Regions from separate parts of the Homo sapiens genome. Here all the other regions are linked to region 5. The links are contacts of gene promoters, found by promoter capture Hi-C in blood cells and fetal thymus (Javierre and others, 2016). All regions are on one chromosome and are shown on one strand. The core of a region is centred on a gene start or on the middle of the fragment in contact, and the rest is flanking DNA. Distances in the headings are between cores, read along the strand shown.

Region 1 (3,009 bases), core at 466-2,965, 410 kb before region 5:
GGAGGGTTATTGGGTTTGCCACTATATGTGTTGATTGGGTGCCGGGTGGTGTAGTCGAGATGGAATCACCATAATTTTCATTCACAAAATTCAGGTAACTGCTTGAAATAGACTCCATTTGGGGCCTGCCCTGGGATAATTACATAACGTGCCACTTAATAGTAATCAGTGAAGAACTAATTAAAGCAGGCGTTTCTCTGACAGCCATCACAGATTGCTCAAGAGAGCAGGTGAGAGCAAAGCTGAACCGCTCCTGAAGCTTCTCTGTGCTGTCAGCCCGCGGGCGGAGGCCCAGGGAGCCGGGCTGGGAGTGGCCGGGAAGGGCCCCCGAGCTTTTGTTCTCTCCAACTTGTATCTCCAAGCTTCCATGGAGACAGAGAAAAGGGGTCGTGAGGAGCAGCGGGTGTGGGGCCTGGAAGCCCCCAGGGTTCTGTTGGGCCATGGGGGGCCTGGGTGAGAGTCTCGCTCTAGACTGGAGGGACACCCCCAGCAGGCTGGGCCCGCTCCTCTCTCTGAGCTGCATCTCTCAGGGTAGGTTGGCAACGAGAAGGGGAGCTCGCAGAGATGTCACAAGGCTGAATGGGACAACACCCGGACCACAGGTGGGGGAAGCCCCCGAGACAGGACCACGCAGCCACTTGCTGGCAGTGTGAAGGGGCGTGTCGGCATGGCAGGCACAGCCTGTGGGCTTGCTGGAGCCAGGTATGACCACAGATTACTTTGTGAATGCCCCACCACTGCCCCTCCGGGGCTGAGGCTCTAGGAGCTCAGAGAGGCAGCTTGGCCTGCCTGAGACCTCAGAGCTGGGACTTGGTCAGGGGTGACACAGACCCACAGGAGAGTCGGGCCTTCTGGAATTTTCCAAACCAAATAGCATGCAAGTTTCTGTAGTGGTGGTGGAGAAGGGTGCTGGGGAGAGGTCAGTGTGAGTGGAGGTCCAGTCACAGTTCCCAGGACTGTAAAAGGCCAGGACAAACCAAAACTCGGATATGCCGAGTAAGTGCTGGCCCCGAGGGTGGAACTGGAGCAGGCAGCCAGTGTGGCTAAGCCTGAGAGGGGGTACTGCGGGCTCCTCAGACACAGATACTTCCCTCCCCACTGTCCCCACTGTCCCCACTGTCAGCAGTTCAGAAGCAATGAAAGCTGGGAAGAATGAGGGGGAAGAAATGGATGCAGTCGCCCACAGATAAGGGGGAGATGCTGAGGTTGCCCTGACCTCCTTGGATAAAGACCACACCACACTCATTTACACACCTGTTCACTTTTTGGGTGTAGGTGCCCTGAAGCCCCCAGAGAAAATTCTAGAGAAAATGCTGCTTTCCGACCAGAGAGGGTGCTGTTGCCTCACAAATGAGCTACCCAAGGATTTGGAAAAAAATTTCCTTGCCGTGATCCAAAGACTGAGAAGTTTCTGTCCATAAACAGCCCTGAAATGGCCTGAATCCTGCCAAACCCTGGGCTTTTTTTCCTGCTAGTACCCATTTTCTATACTCCCACAGGTTGGGGTGAGGAGAGAGAATTATCAGAGCTAGGGAATATTGATGATAACTGCAATGGCTACAATGTCTCACTGCCCTGTAATACTTGCAGCAGTCTGAGACCTGACCTTGTGCCAGCTACCATGTATCACAGCCAGCCCAGTGCACTGTGTGCCAAAGCCTCACCCTGTGCTAGTGCTTTGCACACATTTCCTCTGATCTCACAGTCACCCCCGGGGGAGATAGGGTTGCCCACATGTTGCAGGACCTCAGTGCTACCAGTCACTTGCCTAAGGTCCCAGGTAAGTGAGTGAAAGTCAGTCAGAAAGCTGTCATTTGGACCTGGGTCCACTTGGCTCCAGAACAAGTGCCCTTTAACCACTTCACTATGTTATTTGGGAGCTACATGGCAGGTGGGCCCCAAGCTAGACAGTGGCACGTCTCCTCCCCAGCTGCACACCTTGTTCTGTTCCGGGGGACATGTGTCTGACTCCCGCAATTGGGGAGGAGATAGGCTGACATGGGCTGGATCTTAAGGCCTAAATACGAAAAGAAAACACATCTCTCCTCTCCTATCTTCCCCGGCCTGCTTTCAGTTGTTTCTGGTCTGCCTCTCCGGGCTGGGCTTCGAGGCTCTTCTCTCTGAAATGCCCTGGACGGGTCTGCAAGAGAGAGAACCCTTGGAGAGGATTCCATTAAACAATGATCTCTGGCCAGATGTTCTGTTTTTATGCCACATTTTTTCTTTTTCTTTTTTTTTCTTTTTTCTTTTTTTTTTTTTGAGACGGAGTCTCACTCTGTCGCCCAGGCTGGAGTGCAGTGGTGCCATCTCAGCTCACTGCAACCTCCATCTCCCAGGTTCAACCGATTCTCCTGCCTCAGCCTCCCAAGTAGCTGGGATTGCAGACATGTGCCACCATGCCCAACTAATTTTGTATTTTTAGTAGAGATGGGGTTTTACCATGTTGGCCAGGCTGGTCTCGAACTCCTGACCTCAGGTGATCCACCCACTCAGCCTCCCAAAGTGCTGGGATTACAGACATGAGCCACCACACCAGGCTTAAGCCACATTTTTGATGACCTGTGGAGGCCCCATTTCCCATTTTTAGGGAAAGGAAGGACTCACATTACTGAGAAAACTTGGTGTAGGCCACTGATTTACATGGCAGTCTTCCAAAGGAGGCTAAGGTCTGGGCCCCCTGGTTCAGCTGGGCCAGCAATGAGCAGCGTTCAAATCCCTGAGTCGGGCCGGGGAAGATAGGAGAGGAGAGATTTGTTTTCTTTTCACATTTATGCCTTAAAAAGAGAGAGAGACTGAGGGATGGAAAGTAGACAAGGAGGCCATGAGCACGACTCCTTGCAAGCCTGGGTTTATGGAAAAGCATATGTCAATTCAGTGTTCACAAAAACAGACTTTTTCCCCACTGTGGACTGCTCTGCCAGCTATCTAGTTCATTTCTTGGGGCTACTCTGAGTTCTTGTAAATGAAACCGATGGCGACCACCTGCAAAAATGAATGTAATTAGGCAAA
Region 2 (3,232 bases), core at 179-2,678, 350 kb before region 5:
TTGATTAGAAATCACTGCCTTTGGCCTGGAATGTTGCAACATGGTCGAAACATGCAATTGAGTTAGAGGGCAGACCCATGCCTCCTCCTGCAGCTGCTGCTGGGCACCAGCAAGGCAGGGTCTATTCTTGGCTTCTCCTGCCAGACCTGAGCAAGGATGCATGGAATCTGGGAAGTGGAGGGGGAGCGTGGGGTCATTGGTGGCTTCATAGTTTTTGTTCCACCCTCGGCTGACTGATGGGACACGCATCAGGGATAACTTCAGGGACAGCCAGCACCAGGGACAGCTTCAGGGACAGCCAGCACCAGGTGCCCCACAGAATGCACTTGCCTCCCTTGAAAATGGGAACAAGAACAGTGGGTTCTTGTATGATCAAAATGGGGCTATCGTGAGAAACTAATGTCATTCAGTCAAGCCTTTAACCGGATGACTTGCTCATAGTAAGTCCTCCGCAAATGGAAGCTACTTTTATCTGCATTATTATTACAAATGGCAGAAATACTGACCGTCCACTCAGTAGTCATTCCTCCATTGTTCCTGTGACTAGAACACTGATTTTGTGCAGCAATCACAGAAAGTGCAAATCGGTCTAAGCCACTGCCATCTTATTTTTCTTTGTTTTTGGTGTAGGGATGGGTGTGTGACCTACTTCCCAACACTGAACTGCAGAAGAAAATCTGCTAGGAAGCTTCTGGAAGAGCTTATCCCCAAGAATAAAGAGAGATTTATAAAGAGAAAGATCTTTGGCTTGTACCTCCTTCTTTCTTGTGTAGGATACTATGGTGTAAGCACATGATGCCTGGAGCTATGGCAACCTTCTTGTGACTGTGAAGATGGCAAGGCAGAAACATGCAAAACACAGGAGCCCCGGGTTACTCCCCTTCTCCAGGCTGCTTGTTGTACACAATTAGTCAACCCCCATCTTTTAGTTACTCAGAGCTGGTAATTTTATCACCTGCAACTAAAAGGATTTTGACTGACACATTTATAGTGGATTAAAGTCAGCATCCTGAAAAACCGTAGATGGATGAATGTTTTGAAACAAGCAACAAGTCTGCAATGGAGTTCCCATTCTTGTAAAATTTCTTACACACAGGGTGAGCAAGCAGTCACCCTGTTCTGACCTCTTGTTTCCCAGAAGCTAAGAGCTAGAGAAAGCTGCAAATCAAGCCAGCTCTCCTCCAATGAGTACTGTGCTAGAGGAAGTCCGCTCTGAGGGCCCTTGTGGCTCTGAGAATCATGTAGTACTGCTGGTCCTGCTGGTCACTGTTGGCATTTATGGAGCACTGGCCACAGCTCTCGGAGCTCCAGACCTTATTTCACACTTATTTCATTTCAGTATTTATTTCACCTCATTTCAGTACTTATTTCACAGGCACTGCATGCGAAGGTGCTGAATGAGCTGCCCACTGGCACAGAATGAGTTGCTGAAAGAGTTAGTGGTCAAGTCCATGTTCAAGTTTGTCTCATTCCAAAACCCAAGTCTCAACATGGTCTTTTGTGAGTATCCCTTAAGAAACTGCCAAGTCTTTTTCTCCCATATGTGAAGAGCTGTAGGGTTTGGAAGCAGTCAGTGGACATCTGTAGATGCAGGAGTTGCTGCAACAGATGAGGTAGGGGAGAGGGGAGGTCCTGAAAAGAGAGAGAGCAGGGGGGAGCATTGGGAGCAAGAGAAGGGGCTGAAAACAATAGAGTTGATCTCTGCCCCGAGAGCCCTGGAGCTGCCATTTGTGCAATGCCGGCTCGGTGCGCCGAACCTTTGGGGTTCATATATCACCATGTTATCCTATGTCATCCTTTGGACAGCCCTAGAAAAATGGGAGCTTACAAAATAGCAGCCTAGGGACCACAGTTGCCCCACAGATGTTTCCTGTGACTGGCGGAGCATTGTCGAACTTGGATTCTGAGCACTTCTGGCTGAGGCCTCTGTCCTGCAGTCTACAGACCTGGAATTCCTGGTGAGCCCTTCATGTTTCTGTTCTACACAATCCACCACCTATGTGGTCCCAGTGGTGGGCAATTTTGGTTACACTCCCCGAGGTATTTATTGTTATCCCCATTTTATAGGTGAGAAAGGTGAGTGTCAGAGAGGCTCACCAAGTGTCAGAGTGACTCACCGAAGGTTACCTGTTCACAAGAGGCAGAACCCAGGTGGGTCTGCAAGCTTATGGTTGTCAGATCATGCTAAAGAAAGAATAAAAGAAGAGAAATAAATTTGAATTTCAAATAAACAACATACTTTTTAATACAAGTATGTCCCATCCAATATCTGCGAAATCCAACCATGCTTCGTGCTCCCCTCCACTGGAAAATGATGAGAAGCAGGCTCCACACCAGTTTTACTTCCTTGGATTATGGCCCCAAAATTCTTTAAAATGCCTTTCATTTCTTCTATGCCATTCTCCTGCCTGCATTCTTCCTCTCCACATAGAGAAAAGGAATCTACTCATTCTCAGCCTCCCCCAGAATACTTGTAGGGCTAGGGATGGGACAACAATTGGTGTTTCCCAGGGGAATTTTCCTGGCACTCCCCAGGATCCCTGGCTGAGCCCATGGCTGACAGCTCTCTTTGGAGTTTTGCAGTAGTCACTATGCCCCCAAGGACACTTAAATGGGAAACATGCACCTGGGGTATGGTACATTGATGGTAACATGGATGGATGGATGGATGGATGGATGGATGAATTGTGATAATTAGATTAATTATTGGATGGATAAATGGATGACTGAATGAATGGGTGGAAGGATGTATGGACAATTAGGTGAATGGATGATTGGAGAGATGGGTGGACAGATGAGTAGATGAAGGATAGATGATTAGATGGATGACAGATGGATGGATGGATGGGTGATAAATGGATGAATGATTGGGTGGGTGGAACGATGGATGGATGGAAGGATGGATGGATGGATGGATGGAAGAAAGGATGAATGGATGGATGAAGGATGACGGATGGATGACTAGACGGATGGATGACTAGATGGATGGATGGATAAATGTTGGTTTGGGAAGAGGGGGCATTTCAGGTTGGTCCCAGCAAGTCACAGGACAAAGCAAAAGGGGAAGGAGAGTTAGAGGCAGAACGGACTTGGCTGTTCTGGGCTGTCCTGAAGAGAGACATGCACATCACCCCACCTTGTATCTTTGTGTCTGGGTGGCTGAGGAGTCTAGTGGTTTCTAATACCCTCCCTGGCATTACTAAGTCAGAAGATGCTGATTGTTGCCTGAGGG
Region 3 (3,056 bases), core at 149-2,648, 370 kb before region 5:
CACCAGATGTGAGGTCAGGAAACATGACCGGGTGAAGGGAAGAAGTGTGCCTGGAGCGTCTCTCTAGAACCCAGAGTCACCTTGGCCCTCCGTCACTCATCAGCTCTCCATGGCTCTGCCTACAGAACAAAGCCTGAATGGCCCAAGGCAGGGTTTGCTCTCTGCCCTGCACAGTGCTTGGCATATAGTGGGTGCCCAGTGGATGTGGGTGGAAGGAATGAACAAATGACATTCTCTGGGTGGCTTTCAAGACCCCCAGCATCTACTCAAACTTGTCTCCACTTCACCTTGGCTACAACCACAGGACACTCCTCCCCAGTGCCTGCTCTTTTGGGGAGCATCTCCCCTACCTAAGACCTTCAGCCACTCTTTGCACTGGACCACACCAGTGGCTGCCATCTCTCTCCTTCCCTGAAATCTACAAGTGGTGTTGTCCAGCGCCTTTATTTGGGATTATACTCTCCATGATTCTGCACGATCCCAGGGCCCCAAATATGTAGACACCCTGTCCCAGATTGCTATGACTACCACGACCCCAGGCACAGTAAAGAACCCTCTTCTCCAGAATCCAAGTGTACTTTTCCCTCTTTGAACATATTTTGGGAGGATTCTGTCATTGGGACCCTCTTTAACCTACACTGTCATTCTTTCTCTCATTTTCTCACCATCTTCGGCATTTCTATTTACAAGATTTTCTTCTCTTCTCTCATCAGTTACCCAATTCCTGGCGGTTCTGGCAATATCTTGACTGTACTGGAAGCCCGCTGGTCAAGATCAAGCTACCTTTAGGAACCCTGTTGGCTCCTAGTTCCTACCACACAATAAGCATGCTCTGAAACACAAACAGGAGGCTGCAAGAGCAACAGGGAACAGCAAGGAATGAGGCGCAATCATTCCATGGACAACTTCATGGTTATCCTTGGACTGAGTTCTGCCACGTCTCAGCATCTGAGGCCATCTGCAGAGCATTTGATGGAAAAAGGATAGGCGGTCTCTGAAACCTTCAGACAAGAGGCGCCGTCCAAATCATTTGTGACTTTTATTCTTCAATGTTTAATTGTACCTCCTCTGGGATAATATGGCCAATTTTTGAAAAACAACCATAGCAATAAATTTCCCATAATTTACTGCCAGATTAATAGTTTTGTAGTCAAGCTATTATTGTTTTAATAAGAAGAGAAAAAGAAAAACATGTGAAGAGGCTCTGTATGTTCCAGGGTGAGCTCATCAAGGCAGCCCGCTGGACATGCTGGGCAGGGAAAGCAGCCAGCGTGCCCCAGATGGTGGGGCCCTGGGGTCTCACGGGGAGGGGAGACAGGACCCTCGGCTGGGTGTTTGCCATCTACCCCTCACCCCACCAGGAGCAGCCTGAGCACAGGGGTCTCTGAGCTGCCTGGGTAAGACTCTCTAGATAGGTAAAGGAGAAATTTATTCTGCCCATGAAGGCAGGTAACATGGTCTTCCGGGAAACTCTACCTGCCTTTGTGTCACTCTTGGACAAGGACATTAGCCAGTGACACATCCATGATTTTGCCTCCTCTAGAACTGGGCAAGGGTTCCTAGTGGCAGGGTGGGGACAGGGTGGGCTCTGAGCCATTGGTTGGCAAAACATTGCTCCTCTGATGGCTTTATCTGGTGTCTCATGGCTTCTTCTCATCTCAGGCTTCACAACCATCATACTAACACAGCACCTTGAAAATTCAAAGACACAGCAATCCACAGAAAGACATACACGGAACCGTAAAAGCATCTTGCTGGCCTGGCGCAGTGACTCACACCTGTAATCCCAGCACTTTGGGAGGCTGAGACAGGTGGATCATCTGAGGTTGGGAGCTTGAGACCAACCTGGCCAACAGGGTGAAACCCCGTCTCTACTAAAAATACAAAAATTAGCAGGGCATGGTGGCATGCATCTGTAATCCCAGCTACTCAGGAAGCTGAGGCAGGGAAATTGTTTGAAGCTGGGAGGTGGAGGTTGCAGTGAGCCAAGATCGTGCCACTGCACTCCAGCCTGGGTGACAGAGTGAGACTCCATAAAAAAAAAAAAACAAAAAAAAAACACCTCTTGCTAAGTAAAAGAAGCCAGTTTGAAAAGTCCACATGCTGTGTGAGTCCAACTAGATGACATTCTGGAAAATTCAAAACTATAGAGACGTCAAAAGATCGGTGGTTGTTAGGAGTTCAAGGGGGAGGGAGGGACGAACAGGTGGAGCTCAGGAGATGTTTAGGGCAGTGAAATGACTCTGTATGATCCTGTAATTGAGGGCACGTGACATTATACATTTGTCAAAACCCATAGAATGTACACCACCAAGAGTCAACCCTCTTATGAACTTTAACTGATAATAATGCATCAATATTGGTTCATCAACTGTAACAAGTGTAGCATGCTAAGGCAAGATGTTAATGAAAATAGGATTATTGGGGGAGGGGTATGGGGCATGTGTGGGAACTCTCTGTGCTTTCTGTTCAATTTTTCCCTAAATGTAAAACTGCTCTAAAAAACCCAATCCTAGGGAATGTGCTTTGAAGCAAGATTCATCGCTGTCCCTTCCACTTCCCTGTGAGTAGCTCTTGTCTGGATCACCATCACCCCAACATCCCAGCCATGGGCCTCACTGGCTCTGCAGAATGCAATCATTCCCCAACCCTCTGAATCCATCTCCACCTGCTCTCTCCATCCTGTGACTTCTCCAGTTCAGGCACCACCCTCTCCTATCAGGCATTGTATTTTACCTCCTAGTGGGCCTTCAACTTTCCTGCTTTGGTCTAGAACAGTAGGAGCCTGCTCAGAACCCACCAAGCACAGGCCTTGCCAACTACTTGCCAGGCACACGGGGCTCTTCATGGTGGGGCCGCATGTGCCCACCCGCGCCTCTCCCTGGGGTGCCCAGCTCTGCTTCTCTCCTATGGCCCTCACAGATGCCCCTGCCCTCCCAGCCCGAAGCTCTGGCACCAAGCATGACGTATCACACACCATTTAGGTGACCACCTCTCTCCACAGATAGTGAGCTCCGATAATGCCTAGGTCTGGTCACTTTCACATTCCGGCCCTG
Region 4 (2,970 bases), core at 56-2,555, 350 kb after region 5:
CAAAGGTAGAAACCTGGACCTTGACAGCTCTGATATGAATGTGCCTGAGCCGTCCCTGCCGCCTGTCAGCGGGTTCTCTGTCTGTGAGGGCATGTGGGGACTCGACAAGGACTGTCTGAGAAGTGCGTCAATGCTGTGTGACTTGCCTCCAAGGAGGCCAGGTGTCACCTGGAAGACCCCAGACCACGGCGAGCTCGGGGCTCTGACGCAAGAGCGCTCCTGTGGGAGGGAGGGCAGGGCTGCGGGTGCCCTCCACCAACACACAGCCATGCTGCACTGGGGAAGGGTGTCCCTTACCATGAGAGGAGGACCACTCATTCTGTCCACATGTGCCAGGCATCGTGCAAGACTCTGAGAATTCAGAGACGTCCAAGGGAGTCAAGCTCAGCAGAGACTCACAGTACACAGTCCCAGTCCCTGCTACAGAAGAGGATGAGGCCACAGGATGCAGAGGGGACAGGGTCCTGGGTGGGGACTGGAAGGTTCCCGCAGGGAAGAAAAGGGAGAAGCTGAGTACAGGCCACGTGGGTGTCAGATGATGGTGTGCTCAGGACCCAAGAGGGCTGAGTGGTGGCAGCTGCAGCTTAACACCTGGCTCTGCCCCTTGCTGCCGTGGCCCCGGTGAGCCACTCAATGTCGTGGGGACAACAGGATGTATCTCACAGGGCTGTAGTGAGAATTCAGTGCACCAGCACGTGCTGTGTGCACACTCCTGCCTCAGCGCAGGGCCTGACAGCTGACAGCACTCAGAAGATGCCACCTTGCACACACCCAGATGTGCCTTTGGAAGGCGAGTGACGCAGGAGCTGGAAGGAGGCCATCTGTGGCAGGGTGACCAGGAGACTGCTGCCACAGCCCAGGAGAGCACCTCAAGGCACGGCACTGGGCAGAGCAAAGACAAGAAACAGGACACACTAGCTAGTTGGGACCAATGGGGTCGGGGGCCATGGGGACTGACTGCCCCCACTGGTTCCATCACCAGATGTTTACTGGGCCTTTTTCATGTGTGGGGTCGGGTGCTGGGATCACTGTGCACAAGACCAGGTCCCTGCCCTCTGGGGACTCCCAACCCAGTGAGGAGCACAGGAGATCAACAAAGATGTGACATGTCTAGTAGTGATGGTTTAGCTGACAAATGGGAGGGTGGTGCTAGCCAAGAGGGCCAGGCCTCCCTGGGGAGGGAATGTGGGCAGAGGCTGGATGGAGACCATGCTGGGCTGGAGAGGGAAGGACCCCTGCAGAGGAGCAAGAGCAGGAGTGGGCGTGGCCAGTCTAAGGGACAGCAGGAAGTCCACAGGAGGGGAAGGGACTGAGGGCAGCAGAGGTCAGGGTGCCCTGCTGTCCTCGGAAATAAGGGTGATGCTTGAGCCCCCGGTGGGCTCTGCGGGCACCCGTGCCCACCTGGATGGCAGGCCTGGAAGTCAGAAGAAAATCCCTAAAGACAGAGAGAAGAGGCAGATGCTGGTGTCTGACCCGGAGAGGGCTGAGCAGGTCGGAACGCTGGAGAGGCCATGAAGGGGATGCCGAGAGGTGGCAGCAGTCTGGGGAGCAGCGGGAGGGAGGGAGACCTCTGGATGGGGCAGATGCACTTCAAGGAGGGACGGCAACACCCCATCCAGCAGTCCTTAGAAAACAATGTCAGGATGGGGGCAAAAACTCTGTCTCCATGGGTTAAGAGGGAAAAGAGGATTAAGCAAGGCAAACCAGTTAGACTTTTTTAAAAGCTCAGAGACGAAGGGAAAAAAGGGGAGCTATCTCATGCTGGTGAAGATGGAAGAATTTGGGTTGAGGGGCAGTGGTTACAGGCCTCAGAGAGCACACAGTGAAAGAAATGAGGTGTGGCCCAAGTGCTGATGTGGGAGAGCTTGCCTGGGTGAAGGCGACAGCCTTCCAGAGCCAGAAGTGAAGAATGAGCGCTGACACATGAGAAAAGACAACCTGGGTGGCGCTGTGGGCTCGGGGACTGGAGGTGGCAGGCGCAGAGGCTGGGACCGCTGCCGTGGGGACAGGAGCCTGATGTCAGGCCCATCCAAGGATCTGGAGCTGGGAAATCACTTCCGGCCTTGCAGCCTCAAAAGGATCATTCTCAGCATTGAGTGAAATAACACATGTAGAAGTGCTCCCTGTAAAGGGTGCAGCAACACACATGCACACACACCACACACACACCACTCATGCACACACTAGCACTCATACACACACAGCAACACACACAACACACACACACACCACTCATGCACACACCAGCACTCATACACACAGCAACACATGCTGCTCATGCACACACCAGTACTCACACACAACAACACACACCACACATGCACACACCACACATGCACACCACACACACACACCACTCATGCACACACCAGCAAACACACACACACAGCAACACATACCACACGTACACCACACACACCACTCATGCACACACCAGCAAACATACACAGCAACACATACCACACACACACACACATCACACATGCACACACACACCCCCCACACATACAACACATGCACATACACTCATACACGCACAGCAACACACATGTGCACGCACATACACACACACGTGCATACATCACACACGTGCACACGGAGCTCACATAAACGGGCAGGGTTATTTGGAAAACAGCATGGACGTTCCTGGCACTGATTACGTGCTCAACAAACACTGCCTGTATACAACAGAATCCTGAAGTCACAGACCACGCTGAGGCAGAGGCAGGGGGCCTGGGTTTGGAAAAGCCTCTGCCGCTTCCCAGGAACCAAAGCTCCTGGGAAGGGCAGGAACCCCCTCCTGCCCCCGCAACAAGCTTTTCCCTCTCCCGACCTCCCTCCCACCTGCCCGATCTTGCCCGGGCCCAGGGGCAGTGTCTGCCCTTCCAGACACCCACCTGCAATGTGGACACCTCCACCGGCCCGTTGTCTTGTCCCACCAGGAAAAACTCCACGGTGACCGTCTTCTTC
Region 5 (3,072 bases), core at 204-2,703:
ACTTATGTTATTTTGAAAAATTATCCTCCCTCCTAAATTAACCTGGCTTTTTGTCTTTAACAATCAAACAAGCTAAGAACAAGAATGAGGTGGTCCTTCTAACAAGCTTCTAAGTAACTAGATGTAAAGATTTTCCTCCATAACCTTCATTGAAAATGGCAAATTGTTCTGTTAGGAGGTAGACGGCTGTGGAGAGTGCAGGAGAGCAGGGTGGGAAGCCATATTCTGAAAGCTAAGCCAGGCAGTCTGTTCCCTGGACAAGGCTCATCTCTGAATGAAACCACATGCCACCTCCTCCTGCCCCAGCAATTCTTAGTCATTCTTTCATCCATTGATGCAACAAATAATTGTCATTTAGGAAGGGGGAAATCACTGAACAAGTCTGGCAAGAGCCTCGCCCTCAGGGGCTTACAGTCTAGCGGAAGTTACAACAAATAAACTAGATGACTCCATTAATTCATTCATCCCACAAATAGCTATTGATTTTTTTCATTTTTCAATAAGTAGTCATTGAGCCTTGACTATATGGGAGACACTGAGGATGATTTTTGAGCAAGACCGGCAAGATTCTTGCCTTCAAGAACTCAGTTCGATTGTGAATTTTCACAAATAAATTAACAAGATGATGTCAGAGGGGTAAGTGCTATAAAAAATGCAACAGGATATTGTGACGGAGCAGAGCAACAAGGTGAGAAACGGTGACGAGGGAAGTCTCTCTGGGAGAGACATCTCAGCTCAGATCCATCCTATGCACCTAGGGCAAGGTGTGCCCGGCCAGGAAGCTTTTCTACCCGACCCCTGGCACCGTGCTTCCGGACCGCATCCCTCGTAGGGGTATTATTCATGGGCAGGTCTGATGTTAGCTTCTCCGCGTCACGCCTTATTTATCCCCTCCGAGGGCTGCAAGCTCCTGGCGGGCAGGTGGGACTGGCCCAGCTGATCGGCTGGGTGGCTGGTGGATTTGGGAAAACAGCCCGGGCTGACCCAGGAGGTGGCTGGAACTCTCTATAGGGCACCAGGAAATTTTGCACAAGTGACCACCACAACGAACATCTATGTCAGCAGGCTGACCGCATGCGTCCACACGCCTCGAAATGCCAGGCGAGGATGTGCTGGGCCAGAAGGACAAGGAGGGCCAAGCGGGCGCGCAGGCACCTCCTGGACCTGACCCAACTCTGCCCAGAGGTCAAGGCTCGCTACAAGCCCGCCGCGCCTGCGCAGCACAGCGCCCGCGCCGGCCCCTCCAGCTGCCGTCGGCGGCACTGCGCCGGCGCGATGCGCCCGGCGCTAAGAGGCGGGGTTTCCTTGCGCCGCGCGCAAGGCTGGGGCAAAACCCGGGCCGGGATAGGGCGTGGGGCCGCGCGTCTGGACGTCCCTCGCGTCGGGCCCGACAGCGCCTGCGCACTGCGCCGCCGGCTGGGGTGCTGGGGGCGGGGCAGGGGCAGGTGTAGCCTCTGTGCCTCGTTGTCCCCTGGCGCTACCCGGACATCTCTCAGGGTGCCGGCACCATGAAGATCTGGACTTCGGAGCACGTCTTTGAGTAAGTTTGGGGCGCGGGTCGGCTCCGTGGAGGGCAGGCACGCCGGCCCTGGAGTAGAGGCGAGGCAGAGGCGGCCCGCAGGAGGCTTCTAGGCGTCGGGCCTAGCGAGGGGAGCGAACTCTGAAGCCTGCGGGCCCCGGCGACACGGAGGGCAGACCAAGGTCACGACCCCGAGGCGCCCTAGCCGAGGGGACGGCTCCGACCTCCAGACCCAGGCGGCCTTGCGACCGGCAGGGCTACGGGGTCACTTCCGGGCTGTCCCCCACCATGAGGTAGCCTCGGGCCGGCGGCCTCCTGAGGTCCTGGGGGCGTCGCGGAGCACGAAGCCCTTGACAGCACTCAGGGTTGCCCCATCCCGCCCTGTGAAACCACTTTGGGACGTGGACCCGAGGATCCCAAGAGGGAGGTGTTGGTTTTCTCCAGAGTGTACTTTCCCTGGCCGCCGTTTGGGTGGAGTTTCTACCTTCGAATGTGAATTTCGGGTGAACTCTGACCACCAGGATGTGAAGCCTTTTCACAACTCGTTCATCTACGCAGCAGAGCCTTGGATTTGGAATTCAAGGTCTAGCTCTGGCTGTAACAAGCGTGTGACCCTGGGTTACCCATTTTCATCTGAGAGATGGAAAAGGACGATCGTCAGGGCCTACCCGTGTTAGCTCTTTGAGGCCACGTTCAGGAACATCTTTTTGGATAATGTGAACTGTTTACTAACGAAACTAAGCCTTGAACCAGTTGGATGTGGAGAATTATATTCTCTTCTAGGTCCCTGATTCCATTTACAAAAGAGCCACAAATTTAAGCAGCGAAATCCTTTTTTTTCCCGAGTTACCTGCTCTGTTCCGCTGATCTTAATGTCGTTGCCACACTGTTTTAATTAGTATAGCCTTGTAAATAAATATGCTACAAAGCCATTTATGTTTTTAAAACTGTCTCTGAAGGCAAATTTTTTTTAAATTTCTTTTTTGAGGCAGAGTCTCGCTCTGTTGCCCAGGCTGGAGAGTAGTGGCGTGTTCTTGGCTCACTGCAACCTCCGTCTCCCGTGTTCAAACGATTCTCCTGCCTTGGCCTCCCAAGTAGCTGGGATTACAGGCGCCCACCACCGCGCCCGGCTAATTTTTGTATTTTTAGTAGAGACGGAGTTTCACCATGTTGGTCAGGTTGGTCTCAAAGTGATTCGCCCTGGTCAGGTCGCACCTGACCTCAGGTGATTCGCCCGCCTTGGCCTCCCAAAGTGCCGGGATTACAGGTGTGGGCCACTGTGCCCGGCCTCTGAAGGCAACTTTTAAAACGTTGTCCGCATTTGTACTCAGTGGGACACATCCTAGGGCCTGCTGTATCCTGCAAAGTATAGAATACTGGAATCAGAAGGAAGCTTTCTTTTCCCCCTACTGTTTAGTCTTTTTGGGAGGAAAAAGACCCGAAATTTGTGGTCATTTAGATGTTCATTAACCTGGTCGCATTCATCACTAGTCCATTTCAGCTCCGAGGATGTTTAATTTCAGTCCTCTTCCAGGTTTGCATGCTTCAGTCCT
Region 6 (3,090 bases), core at 279-2,778, 370 kb after region 5:
TACAGTTATAGGAATATATTCAAGCACCATATTGATAATAGGTAGGTAAACGATGAAGTCCTACTTTGGCGGTCTGACCCACGCTCACACAAACGAGGAGCTTCCTAGTCAAGATGCCCCCAGTCCTTGGCAATGTGCCTGCTTCCTGGGCATTGCTCAGTGGCAATGGAAGAGCCAATAAATCAAATCGCTGGTGGAATATTTTACTTTGAAATGGAGTGATGTTTGGTTAATAATTTGAGATCCACTAATCCTAAATGGGGTGACCCATTTAAAATGGCCTCTGTGTAAATTCACAGTTCATTAAATAGAGTCTGGTTTGAACAGGTCATTATGTAGTTAGTATATAAGTAATGGATTGAGCAAGGATGGCTGGGGATACCCATGGGGACACACTGGCTGAGTCTGGTGGCTTTCATAACACTGTCAAGCTTTCTTTTAATGTGAGATTCATTTAAATCACCAACTTAAATTTAGGTGGTTTTGCTTAGTAACCTCTTTTGGTTTACAGTAGAAAATGCAGTGCAAAAATTTTAAATGAGGAATATTCCATTTACAATTAATTTAAAACTTATGAAGCTGTTTTAACTGGCCCATCTAAATGTGTTAATTAACATCAATGATGGTTTCTTATTTTTCACACTTTGTTACTCTGATCATTAACAGTGATGGAAAAGCTAAATTAAGTTAATGGGGAACGGATTATAAATTCTTAAAGGACTTCTTAGTTTGTTTTCAACTGGAAAATATATAGAGAAAGATGAAGGGGCATTTTTGCCTCTACTCATCAATTTTTGGTACCAAATTTCTTAAAAACCAGATGGTTTAAAGAAAATTTTTCCAAAAATTATGTTAACATTCTGCTCAGACATGGCTGCTAAAAAAATAGCATATACACATATAATACTGAACAGCTTCTGCAGTGCCTGTAAACTCTCAGCTCATTTTCTCTTTCTAAAAAAAATATATATTATAACTGATCCCAGAACTCAATCTCTATTGTGCAGCAGTATCAAAGGTCCTTAAATTCTCAACAATGAAGGAAAAACAAAAACCCATTCCCCGGACCGCTTGAGCAGGACTAGGGAAGGAGGAGTCCGTGGATGCAAAGGTTCGCTGCCCCGACGCCCTCAGATTCCTCGAGGCTGCACCTCTGCGGGCAGCTGGCGGGGCGCAGGCCAAGCCCCTCACACCCGGGAGATCCACACGCGCGGCACACACGAAAACCCAATGCCACTTATCGAGACTTCACGCCAACGAGGACAACAATGAGCACAATGATGATGACAAATAATATTAAAATCACAAGCATCTTCCGATTCTTCTTTTGATACTGTTCTGCCTACAAAAAGAGGAGGGAAAAAAGGCCGTCATTTTCCCCAAAATCCCAAATCAAGTCCCACTCGTTTCCAGAATGAGGCTTCCAGATCTCTCTGCACAGTGACTGAGGTCTCTGCTACAGGCTACATGATTGTAATCCCTCCAATCAATCCCACGGAATTCAATCACCAGGAGTGGAAGAGCCCCATGATCCTGGTGCTGCTTATTTACCCTGGACGTGGAAATGGATTTGTTGGAAACCTACTACTAAGACAAAGCCTGACAGGGAAGTGAAAGCTCATGCTTCCGGGTGCAGCTGGGCCTGCTTCTCCCGGCTTTTCCTCCTGCAGGCCGTGGCAAGTGCCCCTGCAGCACGGGTCGCCTGTTCCCGGTCCGTGTTCCTGGAGCGAATGCACAGTTCCTTCACCGCGGAAGGAAACAACGGGCTGGAGGACCGTACCTGGCAGGTAGGCAACAGACACCCGGAAGAGGCCCCATTTCGACCTCCCCTAAATTTGGAAACAAAAACTCATCCTTTGAAATAAAAACAGACACGTGTGCCCCATGGATGTCATATGCAGAAAGATCCCTCTGAGGCGCGTCCTCCCAGTGCCGCTAACGATACAGCAAAGGAGCCCTCCAAGCTCAATCTGGGGACGAGGCTGCACCCTGCACATCTCTTCACCTTAACACCGCATCCTGGAAGCTCGGCAGGAGCGGGAACTCCATCATGCCTGCTAGAGAAATGCCAAAGGGCCCCACCTGGCTGGCGAAAGACGCAGAGCACTGAGAAAGGAGAGCCAGAGGACAGCAGAGTTCAGAGGGCGCCGGGAGGCACGTCCAGGGAGAGCATGCGCTGCCTCTTCCAGACCTTGCTATGGCACAGGAGGGAGGAGGAGACAGCGGGAAGGCAGCCCTGGCGAGAATGGCAATCTCTCCTGCTCCATCCCCCGCGGTGGGCTTGTTTCCTAAGTGAGCCTGCCCGCCCACCTGGAGGAGCCCCTCATCCACCAGGAGGAAACATCAGGCACGGGGACAGCACCGAGAGTCCGGTCATGGGGAGCAGCTCCCGACGCTCAATCACCCTTAGACTAGCCGACTGCCGAGCACGCGCGTGCTGCCTACAGCCTTGTGGCTGGAGGGAAGATGGAGCACGCTGACTTTTCTAATAAGTAACCCAGAACACCAGGGAAGCCAATACTAAATAATATACTGTAAAACCTCTCAAAATGATTTATAAAGTAGAACCTAAAACAAAATTTTTAGTTCCCACTAGATTTGCTCACTCCCGCAGAGAAAGCTTTTCCTTTTATCTGTGTTATATTACAAAACATATTTCACTAGTTTTTATTTAAGAAACTTCAAAACCAATGCATAATTCAGCAGCACATCAAAACCTGGGTATTACAGAGTGAGAAACTTAAGTTAGTTTTCACTTTTAATAGACAGGGCTTGGCAACCAAATTAATCTAAATGCTTAAAAAAACCCTGCATAGACAAGGTCAGACTTCTCTTCCCACCACAGGCTGGAGTCTCATATCCACCTACACATGGCAACAAGCCCCCTGAAAAGACAGCTCAGGGCTTCTGGTTAGACTAGTGCAAGGGCTGACTTTTTGTAAACCCAATACTGCTATTAAATGGGGCGATCTCTGGTATAGGAAGCGACTGATTTCAGAAAAATGGTAGAGTAGTCCAACAGTGAATTGGCAAAACACTCATTATATGGCTAGAAACTCCACTGGGTCTCAAAGATACAAGGAAATGGAT

Evidence for each region. The method cuts DNA at HindIII sites, captures the fragments that hold promoters and counts their contacts. A CHiCAGO score of 5 or more calls a contact.
Region 1: a fragment that was not itself captured here is called in contact with the fragment with the promoter of PRELID3B in region 5 in 1 of 17 cell types (endothelial precursors); the score reaches 5.6 in endothelial precursors.
Region 2: a contact is called between a fragment that was not itself captured here and the fragment with the promoter of PRELID3B in region 5, in 1 of 17 cell types (naive CD8 T cells). The highest score is 5.4, in naive CD8 T cells.
Region 3: a fragment that was not itself captured here is called in contact with the fragment with the promoter of PRELID3B in region 5 in 1 of 17 cell types (non-activated CD4 T cells); the score reaches 5.3 in non-activated CD4 T cells.
Region 4: a contact is called between a fragment that was not itself captured here and the fragment with the promoter of PRELID3B in region 5, in 1 of 17 cell types (neutrophils). The highest score is 7.6, in neutrophils.
Region 6: a fragment that was not itself captured here is called in contact with the fragment with the promoter of PRELID3B in region 5 in 1 of 17 cell types (neutrophils); the score reaches 6.6 in neutrophils.

What each region holds. Positions count from the first base shown.
Region 1 is chr20:59,454,248-59,457,256 of GRCh38, reverse strand. No RefSeq gene overlaps it. Among named protein-coding and RNA genes, the nearest start is that of PHACTR3, 150 kb to the left of the region's middle. The HindIII fragment of the contact is 2,702 bases long and covers 365-3,009 here.
Region 2 is chr20:59,392,985-59,396,216 of GRCh38, reverse strand. No RefSeq gene overlaps it. Among named protein-coding and RNA genes, the nearest start is that of EDN3, 94 kb to the right of the region's middle. The HindIII fragment of the contact is 1,476 bases long and covers 691-2,166 here.
Region 3 is chr20:59,415,375-59,418,430 of GRCh38, reverse strand. No RefSeq gene overlaps it. Among named protein-coding and RNA genes, the nearest start is that of EDN3, 120 kb to the right of the region's middle. The HindIII fragment of the contact is 6,355 bases long and covers 1-3,056 here.
Region 4 is chr20:58,694,520-58,697,489 of GRCh38, reverse strand. It overlaps NPEPL1 (aminopeptidase like 1), which reads right to left. Exons shown (of 12, transcript NM_024663.4): 3 at 2,898-2,970. It overlaps STX16-NPEPL1 (STX16-NPEPL1 readthrough (NMD candidate)), which reads right to left. Exons shown (of 23, transcript NR_037945.1): 13 at 2,898-2,970. Among named protein-coding and RNA genes, the nearest start is that of NPEPL1, 3.2 kb to the right of the region's middle. RefSeq lists an enhancer at 2,504-2,970. The HindIII fragment of the contact is 3,026 bases long and covers 1-2,818 here.
Region 5 is chr20:59,041,167-59,044,238 of GRCh38, reverse strand. It overlaps PRELID3B (PRELI domain containing 3B), which reads left to right and starts at 1,453. Exons shown (of 6, transcript NM_016045.3): 1 at 1,453-1,540. The coding sequence starts at 1,509. SLMO2-ATP5E (SLMO2-ATP5E readthrough) reads left to right here and starts at 1,393. Exons shown (of 6, transcript NR_037930.1): 1 at 1,393-1,540. RefSeq lists a silencer at 1,136-1,535. The HindIII fragment of the contact is 2,130 bases long and covers 785-2,914 here.
Region 6 is chr20:58,674,439-58,677,528 of GRCh38, reverse strand. It overlaps STX16 (syntaxin 16), which reads right to left. Exons shown (of 9, transcript NM_001001433.3): 9 at 1-1,342. The coding sequence ends at 1,238. All of the region lies in intron 8 of STX16-NPEPL1 (STX16-NPEPL1 readthrough (NMD candidate)), which reads right to left. Among named protein-coding and RNA genes, the nearest start is that of NPEPL1, 17 kb to the left of the region's middle. RefSeq lists enhancers at 652-1,176, 1,177-1,702. The HindIII fragment of the contact is 2,189 bases long and covers 434-2,622 here.